Regions from separate parts of the Homo sapiens genome. Here region 2 is linked to region 1. Evidence: promoter capture Hi-C in human tissues and cell types (Jung and others, 2019). All regions are on one chromosome and are shown on one strand. Each heading gives the region's core, a stretch centred on a gene start or on the middle of the fragment in contact. The rest is flanking DNA. Distances are from core to core; before and after follow the strand shown.

What was found. Contacts are between HindIII fragments. The study calls those that stand out against the background at their distance.
Region 2: a contact is called between a fragment that was not itself captured here and the fragment with the promoter of PXDN in region 1, in 1 of the 25 tissues and cell types used here (IMR-90 fibroblasts).

Annotation. Positions count from the first base shown.
Region 1 is chr2:1,741,777-1,748,255 of GRCh38, reverse strand. It overlaps PXDN (peroxidasin), which reads left to right and starts at 3,741. Exons shown (of 23, transcript NM_012293.3): 1 at 3,741-4,000. The coding sequence starts at 3,801. The HindIII fragment of the contact is 6,203 bases long and covers 1-4,567 here.
Region 2 is chr2:1,781,208-1,787,686 of GRCh38, reverse strand. No RefSeq gene overlaps it. Among named protein-coding and RNA genes, the nearest start is that of PXDN, 40 kb to the right of the region's middle. RefSeq lists enhancers at 5,660-6,160, 6,161-6,479. The HindIII fragment of the contact is 3,158 bases long and covers 865-4,022 here.

The DNA of each region.
Region 1 (6,479 bases), core at 2,492-4,991:
ATTATAATACAGCTGTATTTGTAACCACAGCACTTTCATCTGTTGTGTGGGTGGTTCCAGCAGGAGATGGAGCTGGAGGGGGTCTCAGAAACCTATGAATCTGTAACCAGTCAGAAGTGTGGATGGCCTGGGGACCACTGGACACACAGGTAGTATTAAAGTGAGGGCAGCCTTACTGAGGTCCATCCACATCTGTAACCTGCGGGGTCTGCTCTAGCTCCAGGTACTTAACAGCAGGACTGTACTGAAGTCTGCCTAGGACTCTGTCTCCTCCTCTGCTGAATATAATGTTTGCAGCTCCCACCCAGCATTCTGCCATTATGGAAATACAGAAGAAGCATTCTCACAAGCATCCCTGTTCTACACAAACTCAAGAGTGACACGTGGTAGGCAGCCTCTAAGATGGTCCCCAGTGGTTCTGTCTCATGTTCCTTACGCTCCCAGTTGATGCTCTGCTGTGGCATGTGCTGGACGCAAGAGCATCTGTGGATGGAATCCAGCAGGAGAGATGGCGTCCAGTGTGAGCTGGAACAACAGGAGGGTGTGGAGAGGATCCAGGAGGAGTGATGGCATCTGCATCTGGACCCACTGGTGTGTGTGCACAGGATCCTGCGGGGTGATGGCTGAACCCACTGGCGTGTGTGCACAGGATCCTGCGGGGTGATGGCTGAACTCACTGGAGTGTGTGCACAGGATCCTGCAGGGGTGATGGCACCCGGAGTCTAATCTGAACCCACTGGAGTGTGTGCACAGGATCCCGCAGGGGCGATGGCACCCGGAGTCTGAAATGAATCCTCTGGAGTGCGTGGACAGGACCCTGCAGGGGTGATGGCATCGGAATCTGAACTAAACCCACTCGAATGTGTGCGCAGGATCCCGCAGGGGCGATGGCACCCGGAGTCTAATCTGAACCCACTGGAGAGTGTGCGCAGGATCCCGCAGGGGCGATGGCATATGGAGTTTCAGCTGGACCTACTCGAGTGTGTGGATAGAATCTTGCAGGAGAGACGACATGTAGAATGTAAACTGGACTGAGTGGAGTGTATGGAGAGAATCCTGCAGGTGAGATGGCGTGTGCAGTGGGAAGCGGACCCACTGGAATCTTTGGGTGGGACCCAAACTCAACCACTGCTATGTGTAGACAGGATCTTTGAGGAGAGATGGCATCTGCAGTGTGAACCGAACCCACTGGAGTGTATGGATAGCATCTTGCAGGAGTGATGACATCTGCAGTGTGATCTGGACTGCCTCGAGTGTGTGGGTAGGATCCTGCAAGAGTGATGGCATGTGGAGTGAGCACTGCATCCACAGGACTGTGTGGACAGCAGCCTTCAGCAGTGATGATGTCTGCTGTGTGAAGTGGAGCACTGTAGTGTGTGGGTAGGGTCCTGCAGGAGAGATGGCAACTGGAGTGTGAACTGCACCCACTTGAGTGAGAGGTTGGGATGCTGCAGGTGGATGGCATTTGGAGTGTGAACTGGACCCACTTGAGTGTATGGGTAGGGTCCTGCAGGAGAGATGGCAACTGGAGTGTGAACTGGACCCACTGTTGTGCCTGGAGAGGATCCTGCAGAAGACAAGGCATCTGCAGTGTAAACTGGGCCACTGGGGTGTGTAGCTAGAATCATGCTGGAGTAACGGCTTCTGGACTGTGAGCTGGCCCCATTAAAGTGTGTGTATAGGATCCTGCAAAAGTGATAGCCTCTGGAGTGTGAATGGGACCCACTGAGGTGTGTGGATAGGATACTGCAGGGGTGATGGTGTCTGCAGTGTGAGCTGCAGCCCTGGGGCATGTGGATAGGACTCTGCAAAGAGACAGCATCTGTGGTGTGAATGGCACCGGTGGAATGTGTAGAGAGGATCCTGCAAAAGTGATGTCCTCTAGAGTGTGAACTGGACCCACTGGAGGGTGTGGACATCGTCCTGCAGGAGAGATGGCATCTAGAGTGTGAATGGCACCTCCGGAGTGTGTGGATAGGAGCCCGCAGGAGAGAGCACATGTAGAGCGTGAACTGGACCCACTGAAATGTGTGGACAGGATTCTGCAGAAGATACGGCATCCGGAGTGTGAAATGCACCACTAGTGTGTGTGCATAGAATCCTGCATAAGTTTTGGCATCTACAGTGTGAACTGGAGTCACTGGAATGTGTGAATAGGATCTTGCAGGAGAGATGTCTGCAGTGTGAGCTGGACCCACTTCTGTGTGTGGATAGTATCCTGCAGGAGAGATGTTGTCTGCAGTGTGAGCTGGGCCCACCGGAGTGTGTGAATAGGATCCTGCAGGAGAAATGGAATCCGGAGTGTGAGCTGCATCCGCTGTAGAGGGTGGATAAAATCCTGCAGGAAAGATGGCATCTGGAATGTCAGCGGGAGCCACCGACCTCTGAGGATGCACCCCGCAGGTGTGATGCGGGGCCAGTTCCAAGGCTGGGTTAGGTTTTACCCTGGCTTCTGTGTTGTACTCTCATTCTCTTCCTCTTTCTTCTAATACCTGCTCTGGGAGGCATCAGGCCATGTCCAGTGTGCAGGCCATGGAGACCCACACGGCAAGGAACTGGAACCCCCTGCCAGCAGCCTCGGGGGTCCAGTCCTTAGATGGTGCCCTGTGGTCAGCAATGCACCTGTGACCTCCGGGCTATGTCTCGTGGTAGTTGCTTTTGTGTTTTAACATAGCAACAGGAAACTAGCCTATTACCCACCAATCCCATTCCAGGCTGCTTTCAAACGCAGCTCAGGCTAGAACACCAGCACGGGGACACAGCTGAGACTTGGGGTTTGCGACGGGAACACGCCCATGCTGTGCCTCTGAATCTGGCACCGTCACCCTGTGGCCTGGGTTCAGCAACTTGGCCTCACCTTCCTTGTCTGTGAAATTCAGACTGGGTCCTTGTGAGATGATTGGAGAGAATGTATGAACTATGTGAGAACGCCACCTTTGTGCGTATCTCACGCAGTGTCTTCCCTCCTTTCCAAAGTCTTCTGCTGTCTCTAGACACACCCGACGTGGGGGGGGGGGGTTCCCTGGGTCTCCTCCTAGGTCTGTCCCAGGAGGGCACGCACTGAAGGCCGCGAGAATCCCGGGGGCTGCATTGCGCCGCGCCAAGGACTCCACACAGGACCTTTCATTTTCCCAACTGTGCTGAGCCAGGCGGCCGGCAGAGAGCAGGTGGCTGACAGGCCCCGGGGAGCCGGACCGCCTGGGTCTAATCTTCCCGCAGACTCCCTTGCTGTGCGCTTTGGGGCTTGGGCCTCAGTTTCCTCAAAAGGAATGAGGGGCTTTTTTGGAACGTTAAATAATTTCCTACGTGGTTGCGGGTAGGGAGAAGGAGAAAGAGAGGAGCGCGCCTGCGCGCCTGGAATCGTGCCCGGATCAGAGCAAGCGCTCTAAAAGTGTTACAAACATTAAGGCGCCAACTAAAAAACCCGTAGTGAGCGCAGGCAGAAACCACGGGTAAGAGAAGTGGAGAAGCTTCGCGTAGGCCCCAGGGTCCCGAGCCCCGAGTCTCGAGCGCAGAATCAGGGGTGCCAATGCTCTCCTCCGCGCCCCCGAGCGCTCGCCTTGGCCATGCGGGCCGCCCCACCGGGATGAGGGCGCTCAGGCCGGACGCTGGGGCCCCGGGTTCTCGCCCCGCCCCGCCCTCGGGGATTCAGAGGGGCCGGGAGGAGCCTCGCGCATGTGCACAGCTGGCGCCCCCCGCCCCCCGCGCACAGCTGGGACGTGGGCCGCGGCCGGGCGGGCGCAGTCGGGAGCCGGCCGTGGTGGCTCCGTGCGTCCGAGCGTCCGTCCGCGCCGTCGGCCATGGCCAAGCGCTCCAGGGGCCCCGGGCGCCGCTGCCTGTTGGCGCTCGTGCTGTTCTGCGCCTGGGGGACGCTGGCCGTGGTGGCCCAGAAGCCGGGCGCAGGGTGTCCGAGCCGCTGCCTGTGCTTCCGCACCACCGTGCGCTGCATGCATCTGCTGCTGGAGGCCGTGCCCGCCGTGGCGCCGCAGACCTCCATCCTGTGAGTGCCGCGGGGGACGCCGGGGGCGCGGGGTCCGGGGCTTCGTGGAGATCCGGGAGCGCAGGGGTGATCGGAGGTGGGGGGCGCGGAGGGTGGAGGGGGCATCGGGCGCGCGGGGGGCCTGGGGACTTGGGACGCAGAAGGGAACCTCCGAAGGGGGACGTGGGGGGACCTGGGCGCGGGGACCCGCTGGGCCTTTGTTCGCCCTGCGGGAGACGCCGAGGGGCGGAACAGAGCGCTGTGCGCGCGGCCTTCGTAGCCGCCTTTGTTCGGAACTCGGAATCCCCGCAGGACTGGGAAGTTGTTGGAGCCTCCGGGGCTCCCCCCGCTCGCCTCCCGCCGCCCCCTCTCATGCTCCGCCGGCCTCCCGCTTCCCCCTGGTTCGCGGCCCCTCCTCCGCTCACCTTTCCCCCGCTCAGGACCCCTCGGTCCCCCTCCGCTCCCCGAGCGCGGCGCAGCCCCCTCCGTCCTCCCAGCCCCCTCCGCCCCGTTCCTCGTCCTGTTCGCTCCCCTCCTCCGCTCCTCTTCCTCCTCCCCTTCCTCCTCCTCCTCCCCTTCCTCCTCCTCCTCCCCTTCCTCCTCCTCCTCCCTTCCCCTCCTCCTCCCCCCCTTCCTTCTCCTCCCCCAGCCTCCGCCCTCTCCCCCTCCCCCGCCCCTTGGAGCGCAGTGCCCACCCCATCCCCCCGCGCCGGGGAAGCCTCCCCAGAGGAGCCTCAGTTCCCGCAGCCGCGGCGCCCCCGCTCCCAGTGCCCCCGCATCTGCCCGGAGCGTCCTCTCCTGGGGTGTCCTGGGGGCCCCGCGCTTCTCAGGGGCTTTTCCTGCGCCCGGAGCGAGCCGGGCGGCCGGGGTTCCCGAGAGGGGCCGCGCGGTAGTCTCGGGGCAGCCCGGGTCTAGATGGAGCCGGGACTCAGAGCGGGTTTCTGCCTCGGGCATTTCTCTTCTTTCGCTTCTAATCCACGCGAGCGTGTTCGCAGTTGCGCTATACGTTTAACCGGATGCGTTGCGTTGGGGTTGACACCCTGTCCTGCGGGCCGTCCCGCGTCACGGTCTCCACAGCAGGAATCCCCATCCCTCCGCCCCGCGGCTCCAGGTACCGAGATGCCGCCAGAGTTCGCTGCAGGCCTCCTGTGTTCTGAAGCGAGTCGGATTCAACATTTTCGGGATCTGTGAACGCGGGCTGCGTTTCAGGCGCCGACTCTAATTTAGTCCTGTAGCGACTTTTCTGCATGCCAAAAATAGTTTTCACGTTTCTTAGCTGAGCCAGAGGACTTTTTGGCACCAGCAAAGAGTCTGCAAAAGTTGTAAAAAAATTGAGTGAACAATTCAGGAAGTGGGCGGCCAGTGCGCCTACCTCCGAAACAAAGTGCTGGGACAGACCACGGCTCCCAGGGGTCGCCGAGTTTGCAGGCTGCTTCCTGGAGGCCCTGGGGCGGGGCGGGGGCCCGAGTTCCTCTCCTCCTCCGCAGAGAGACCAAGGCTTTCTTTCCAGAGCCCGTGAATGGTCAGCCCAGGCCGGACGACTCGGGGGCATCTCACTCAACAGCAGTGGACTTTTAGAATGGAGCCGGGTGAGGTTTCCCTGGGTCTGGATAATGTAATTCTTGCTGAGCCAGTGGAAAAATGGCACCTCAAAGATTTTTCCCATCTGGTCAGTTTCATAAAGCTTGCGGTATGTTTTGCCCCGGAATATTAATTGCTTGTTGAAAATAACATGTTAAAATAAGTGTCGTAGGACACACATGGGGTCCTCTGCTCCGCTTTGCATGGTGTGCTCGTCCACAAACGCCTCACCGAATTTGAAAAAGGAGCTGAGAGTAGACGGGTGACATCATCGTCCACTCGCACAACACTTCCTCATAGGGTACATTTGCATCCATTTCTATCTTAAACTTTCAGGGGTTTTTGCAGTCTTCAGTGATACTTCGAAATGTCGCTGTTGAGTCACGTTGATTCTGTGAGGCAGGTAGACTGGTAGCTGTTAAGTTGATCGAATCCCTTATAGAACTAAACACTTTACTGGAGAAATGAACATACCCATTTTCTGGCGGTGGAAACAGAAGCTCTGGGAGAGAAGCGCAGCTCCTGACGCTATTCCTGTGGCCAAGAGGAGGAGCGTAGCGCTGGTGGCCAGAATGGAGTCCTGGCTGGATGCATTGCAGCCGCGTGATTTTTAGCAAGTCCCGTGTCTCCTGGGAGAACGTGAGGGTGTAGCTGTGCGGACCTAGGCACAGTGGACAGGTGTCATGAGCGAGCGCTAGTGAGTGCAGCCTGGGGAGGCAGGGACTGAGGGAAGAGGGAGACCTATTCTGCGGGGATATCCTGTTGAGGGGTCTCTGGGGGCATGGTCTGGTAGGCTGTTGCTTGAGATGACACAGTTCTACATGATACATGCTACACGTGAAGCAACATTTCATGTCCACTTTCGGCTTTCTCCCAGGACTGTGCTCTCATGTATATGTGATTATTTTCTATTACAATT
Region 2 (6,479 bases), core at 1,194-3,693, 41 kb before region 1:
TTTTGCCTCAATCTCAGTCTATACTAGAAATACCAAAACAATTACAAATGTACCAAAATCAATAAAAACAACCCTAAAGTCCTATTACAGAGGAATGATTAAGCAATTCATGATCCATGAATTTTATGGAGTACTAGAGAGCTCTTAAAATAATGGCTATAAAAACCTTGTAATAAGGGGATTATGATAAAGTAGATGAAGAGTACAGAAAAAAATTACAAATGCATGAAGGGGCATTTGTTATCAACAAAAAGAGTTGGACTCTGTAAAATATTTGAAGAGATTTATTCTGAGCCAAATATGAGTGGCCATGGTCCACGACACAGCCCTCAGGAGGTGCTGAGAACATGTGCCCAAGGTGGTCAGGGCACAGATTGATTTTATACATTTTAGGGAGGCATGAGACATCAATCAAATACATTTAAGAAATACTTTGGTTTGGTCCAGAAAGGTGGGACAACTCAAAGTGGGGGCTTCCAGGCTATCGGTGAATTTAAACATTTTCTGGTTGACAATTGGTTGAGTTTGTCTAAAGACCTGGGATTGATAGAAAGGGAATGTTCAGGTTAAGATAAAGACTGTGGAAACCAAAGTTCTTGTGAAGTCTTATAGTGGCTCCCCTTAGAGACAATAGATGACTAATGTTTCCTATCAGATTTTATTTTTTTTATTTATTTATTTTTTTGAGACGGAGTCTCACATTATTGCCCAGGCTGGAGTGCAATGGCACAATCTCGGCTCACTGCAGCCTCCGCCTTCTGGGTTCACGCAATTATCCTGCCTCAGCCTCCCAAGTAGCTGGGATTACAGGTGCACACCATCACATCGGCTAATTTTTTGTATTTTTAGTAGAGACGGGCTTTCACCACGTTGGCCAGACTGATCGTGAACTCCTGACCTTGTGATCCTCCCACCTCAGCCTCCCAAAGTGCTGAGATTGGCACGTGAGCCACCTCGCCCGGCCTTCCTATTCGGATCTTAGTTAATCTCTTCAGGATTGAGAAGGCCTGGAAGAAAAAGATCCAGTTATGTTAACAGAGATTCTTTACAGATGCAAAATTTCCCCCTACAAAGAACAGCTTTGCAGGGCCATTTCAAAATATGGCAAAGATACATGTTTTGGGGTAAAATATTTTGATTTTCTTCCTTGTCTTGTAATGTTATGCCAGAGTCAGGTTGGAAAAGTAAGTCATGATATACAGGTTAAATAAAACCCATCTGATGAGAATTTATAGTTTGCAGGGCGTGACTCCCCAGACCCCTTCAATAGGAATTTGGGCAAGATAAAAAAAATCAGAGTTTAGTCCTCAGCCTTAGCAAAATAAACTTCTGAATTGGTTGAGACCTGTCTCAGATACTTACTGGTTTACACAACACAGCTGGGTAATGAGGCAGAGCTCAGGGTCTTAAGGGAGAAGCAATTTAAGTACATGAAGATAATCAGGCTTTCATCCTTTGTATTTCACTTACTATGACACACACAAGTTATCAGTCACTGTTCAGACACTGGGTCAAGTGGGAAACGACACAAAGAAAACATCCCATCCTAATAAATGTAGTTGGCATAGACCTCCTTGTATAATAATAAAACAGGCACATGGCAGCCCCTGAGCACCCTCATTTTCAGTATCAAATAGAGTGGCCTAAGGGGAAGCCTCACTGTTGGTCCTAATGAGGCCTCCCCTGTGTGAGGCCAAATGTGGGGCATGCTGGACTTTCCTCTGGATGGAGTCACCTCTGGTCTCTGACCCCATCCTTGCATCCTAGTTTCTTCTCATCCTCTTCTTGCTTTTTAATTAAATGAGTTTTTTCTTTCTAGAGCATTGTTTGTGTCCCTTCAGTTTCTTCGAATCTTCGTTGAGCAAGGTAAGATAAGGAAATAAAGAAGGATCAGTATTACCCACAAACACAGGGATGTGTGTGCAGATGGCCAGATAAAGGTGGGAAATTAATCAGAGAAGGAAAGAAGAGGGAGGGGCCGGTGATGGAATCAGGAAATTGAGAATTCCATCTTAGGGCCCGAAAGAGAGATAATCGAAGGTAAATCATGGCTTCAATACTTAGGGCCCAACAACTGTCCCCGCCTTCCACCACAGCTTTGTTTTCTGGCCGAATGCGGTGGGTGCCCGGCCTTCCTTAGGATCCGTCCCTCCCCTCGGAGGCCAGCAGCCTTGCCCAGCAACAGCAGAGAACCATGCTCTTTCCACAGGCCGCCAACAAAACATGTGAAGCATCTGATAAAAACCATGAGCGATCATAGCGTTTCCCTTTTCTAAGGAACAAATTGTTTCCTTCTCATGTGTGAGATACAAACAGCAGGCATTCAACTCATTTGCCCTCTTTGATATGTGGGGAACAAAACCACCCAAGACCGTCTGGGGAGAGAGCCAGAGACATGCCATCGTTAAACATCTCGTATGGGTCAGCCCCAAGCGAGGTGTCTTACACAGTTATCCCCACAGAAGGGGCCTCCTGACACCTGAACAGCATCCGCCCCAGGACCCAGCTTTGTCAGGTATGTCTGACGGCGGAGGCCTTTCCCCACGACCCAGCTTTGTCAGGCATGTCTGACAGCAGAGGTGTTCCTGAGAAGTGTCTCACCGCAATGAGACGGGTCATGGAGAAGCCCAATCCTCTCCTCATCTTTTCCCAAAGAGAGAATCTCTGCCCCTCTACCCAGGAGGGGACCCTGTTGGAGTGAACAGGATTCTGTCTCCCTCCTATACTAGGAGTGACCTCTTTAAAGAGAGATGTGGCCTAAGAGTATTAGAATCCAAATAAGATGTCACCTATCCAGAAAAGAAGGTTTAAAAAGAATACGGCGTTGTCATGTCCCAAGATCTTCAGAACTTAGGAGCTAGTTTAAAGTTATTTACATAGAATTTAGTGCAGAGGTTAATCGGGGGATATAGAAGTCTAGATGGAGGTTACTGACTTTACAAAGAAACTGAAAAATTGAGGTTGTGACACTACCTTAAAATGAGATCATAATTCAGGCACCATGTGTCTCCCCCCAGACGGTTTACAAAACCTCATCAAGCTGGGAAGGCCACCCTCAAAATTACTCGGGAGCCTCAAATTGTTTCCTTAGTAGGGTGTAAATAAGCAAAGACTGCCCAAATGACAACAGACAGAGGCTGCTTATCCCGAGCTCCTCAGAGTTAGGAAGCCGACCACCATCACCTGCATTTTCGCAGAGACTCCGGCAGGCTGGGCGTGGGAGCTTCCCGGGGAAGGGAAGGCACCCGGTGAGCCCCGATGGAGGCTGCTGGCCTGGGAGCTGGGGCGGCAAATGGAATCGGGGCGTCCCGTGTGAGTGTCGGGGGAGCACGTTTGTCTTTCTCCGTCTGTCCTCAATGGGACGTCAGGGCAGAAGTCGGGGCAGCTGTGAGTTGTTAAGCTCTGACCAGCTGGGGCTGATTGTTACGGCACTGTTGCTCAGCTTTCTGGATCGTCACTAGGGACAGCGATCAGGACTCCTGCACGTCTGATTTGCAGATAGCAGGCGGGCATCCTGGGCTGCTCCTTGCCGGTAAGGGCTTGGTTTCCTGTGCTGGTTGTGGGTCTGATGTCTGCTTTTACATGTGGTCGGTCCATTGTCCGCTTGTATTTTCATCTCTCAGTCGTAGGCATCTTTCAACGTTGCAAAAATTAGAATGAAGAAATAAAGCATTTTCTGTGTTAGAATTAGGCATATTTAGCATTTTAAGAATTGAAATATTTAAGAGAATCTGATCAATTAAAGTGATGCCTCAGCCGTGAGACTAAAATTTCAATTGTGTATTTTTGTTATTGGTGTAATTGTGATCCCTCCACGCGTGCACCCAGGCTCATTAAAAAAAACACAGCCCCGCTGCTTATCAGCTTTACTGTCAAAAAAAAAATACAAGGATGCAACAGACAGTGGAGCTTTTAGGGGAATGTGAGCACGTCGCACTTGTAAAATCTGTGTGGAAGCTTTAATGATGTTCAGTTCACCACTTCGTGGACGGGACCGAAGGTTAATCAAAGGAACCCTAAATCTCGATTGCTCACACCTGTCGTATTTAAATAAAAGAACACTTTTGTAAGTTGAGCTTTTAAAAGCTTAAGGAAAGTCTGGGTACTATGGCTCATGTCTATAATCCCAGCACTGTGGGAGGCCGAGGCGGGAGATCACCTGAGGTCAGGAGTTCGAGACCAGCCTGGCCAACATGGTGAAACCCCATCTCTACTAAAAATACAAAAATTAGCTGGCTGTGGTGGCTCACGCCTGTAATCTCAGCTACTCAGGAGGCTGAGGCTAGAGAATTGCTTGAGCTAGGGAGGCAGAGGTTGCAGTGAGCCGAGATCATGCCACTGCACTCCTGCCTGGCTGACAGAGGGAGGCTCTGTCTCCAAAAAAAAAAAAAAAATTTTTTTTGAGCAAGGCCTCAAAGAAAGCGAAGCGTGGATTATCTTATTCTCACCTCCTCGGTGCTGGGAAAGACCTGCCTTGACCGAAGTCCGCTCAGACTCCTTAGGCTTTACCTAAGCATTGTCCTCGCCCAGCTGTGGCAAAAATATTATGTTGGTTTAGAGAGAACCCCCACCCTCCACACCTGACCCCCTCCGTAGCTAACTGGGTTCCTCATCTCTCCCCATCCCCAGGTGACACCCGATCCTCCTGCGGCCTTCAGCAAGAGTCCTGTGTGCTGTGAGACCTTTCCTCACTCATCATAAGGTTGCGACCTGGCTGACGCTCCTAGAATGAAACGCAGGTTAACAAGAGAAAAACACAACGCATTTCTTTAATCCAAGTTTTATGTAGCCCCTGAGGCTTCCAAAGGAAGACCCAAAGACCAAGGGGAAACTGAGATTCTGCTCAGACCCCATGAAGATGGGCGGCCATGCAGAAACACGATGGGACAAAGGGAGAGATCGCCCAGCAGGGGCCCCAGCAAGGCCGCTCCGTCCATGTTCCTCTCAGCCTCTCTGGGTAGCACGCTGTGGGGGCTCGGGAATCGATACCCCAAAATGTGGGGCTTTGACGTGTTGAACTGAAGAAACAGCCTCTCCAGGTCTCTCTGATCACCCTCCTCATGTCCCATCTGAATCCCCTGCGTCCCAAAGCACAGGGTGAAGCTGCTCTCTGAGTCTGAACCCACCAAAGAAGGAAACGGTCACCCCTGTCTCTTCCCTGAGTTTTTCTCAGCTGGATTCCTGTCACAGAAAGAAAGACCAAAGTCTCAATCCACCTGGACAGACATGTGTCATAAGCCATTGTCTGCTCTGTGGGCCCAACAGACATTGCCTCAGATCACTGTATATTCTCCAAGCCCATTGAATTTCCTAAAGGGCATTTACTACCCGCTAAACTCATCCACACGCCCCATCTCCCTTTCCCCTAAAAGGGCGGGTGTATCAGCGTCTGTCCCATCACATGGTGAGGCGGCCACTTCCTCACCCCGTGCATGTTCCTATCTGCGTGCCTTTACTCTTATTAATCGTCCTTTCACCAGTAGACTTTTAGCAAACCTTCAGAGGGTAAAAAGGGGGTTTTCCCTTGGCCCCTACAGTTTCTTCCTTCTGTCTACGGGACAGGACCCTTCTGGAATGAGTGTCTTGAAGGGAGAAGGGAGAGAGTGACCTTTCCAGGCTTTTTGGCTTGCTTTTGGGGAGGGGGCCTCTAGTTTCTAGGACCGGCCTAGGGGCATAGGAATTCCAGTTTCTACGACTGCTTTAGGGGAGGCTGAGGAGTGAGAGAGGAGAATGAGAGACCACAGCCTAGCGTCAGAGCCTTTCAGCATCCTGCAACTCAAAGAACACCACAGCCAAGGCGTGTACCTTGGGGTATCATGCTCTGAGCCCCAACATCTGCAAAGGTAGGTGTCATTATCTCCTTAGTGCACCACAGGAAACCAGCTGAGAAAGCCAAATGCTTTGTCCCAAGTCACCGGGCAGGTGTGTGGCAGTGCAGAGAGCCCAGTCTGAGCCCCCTGCACCCTGAGAGCTGCCCCCAGATGAAGAGCCCAGGGGAGCATCTGAGCTCCCTCCAATGCACCACTTCCTTCCGTGAGACATCGGCCCATGCGCGTGAAGGGGACAGGAGGCAGGCGGTCCTGTGGGTGACTCATGGGAAGAACAGCACTGTGACCGCAGCAAGCTTGCAGCTCTCAAAAAAATAAAGAACAAAGGAAAGAAAATTAAAAGTTAGGGCTGAAGGGGGAGCTGGAACTAACATCAGAGGCTTTAAGTGTCTGCCACTGGGCTAGAAGGTGAGGTGGCCCCTCCCTGTGTGACATGGAGCCCAGGACAGGCTCTCCCTGTGTGGGAACTCGTGCAGAGCCTGCGGTCCCCATTCACGGCCCCGCAGGAGCTCACCAGGAGAGACTGCAGCAGCTCATCAGAGTCTGCGCTCTCCTCCTGGGGCAGGTGGGGCTCCAGTTCCCGCACCCCTTCTCCTCAGGTGGAGCCTAAATAGAGCAGTCAGATATCAATCAGGTAACGGCAAACTGGTT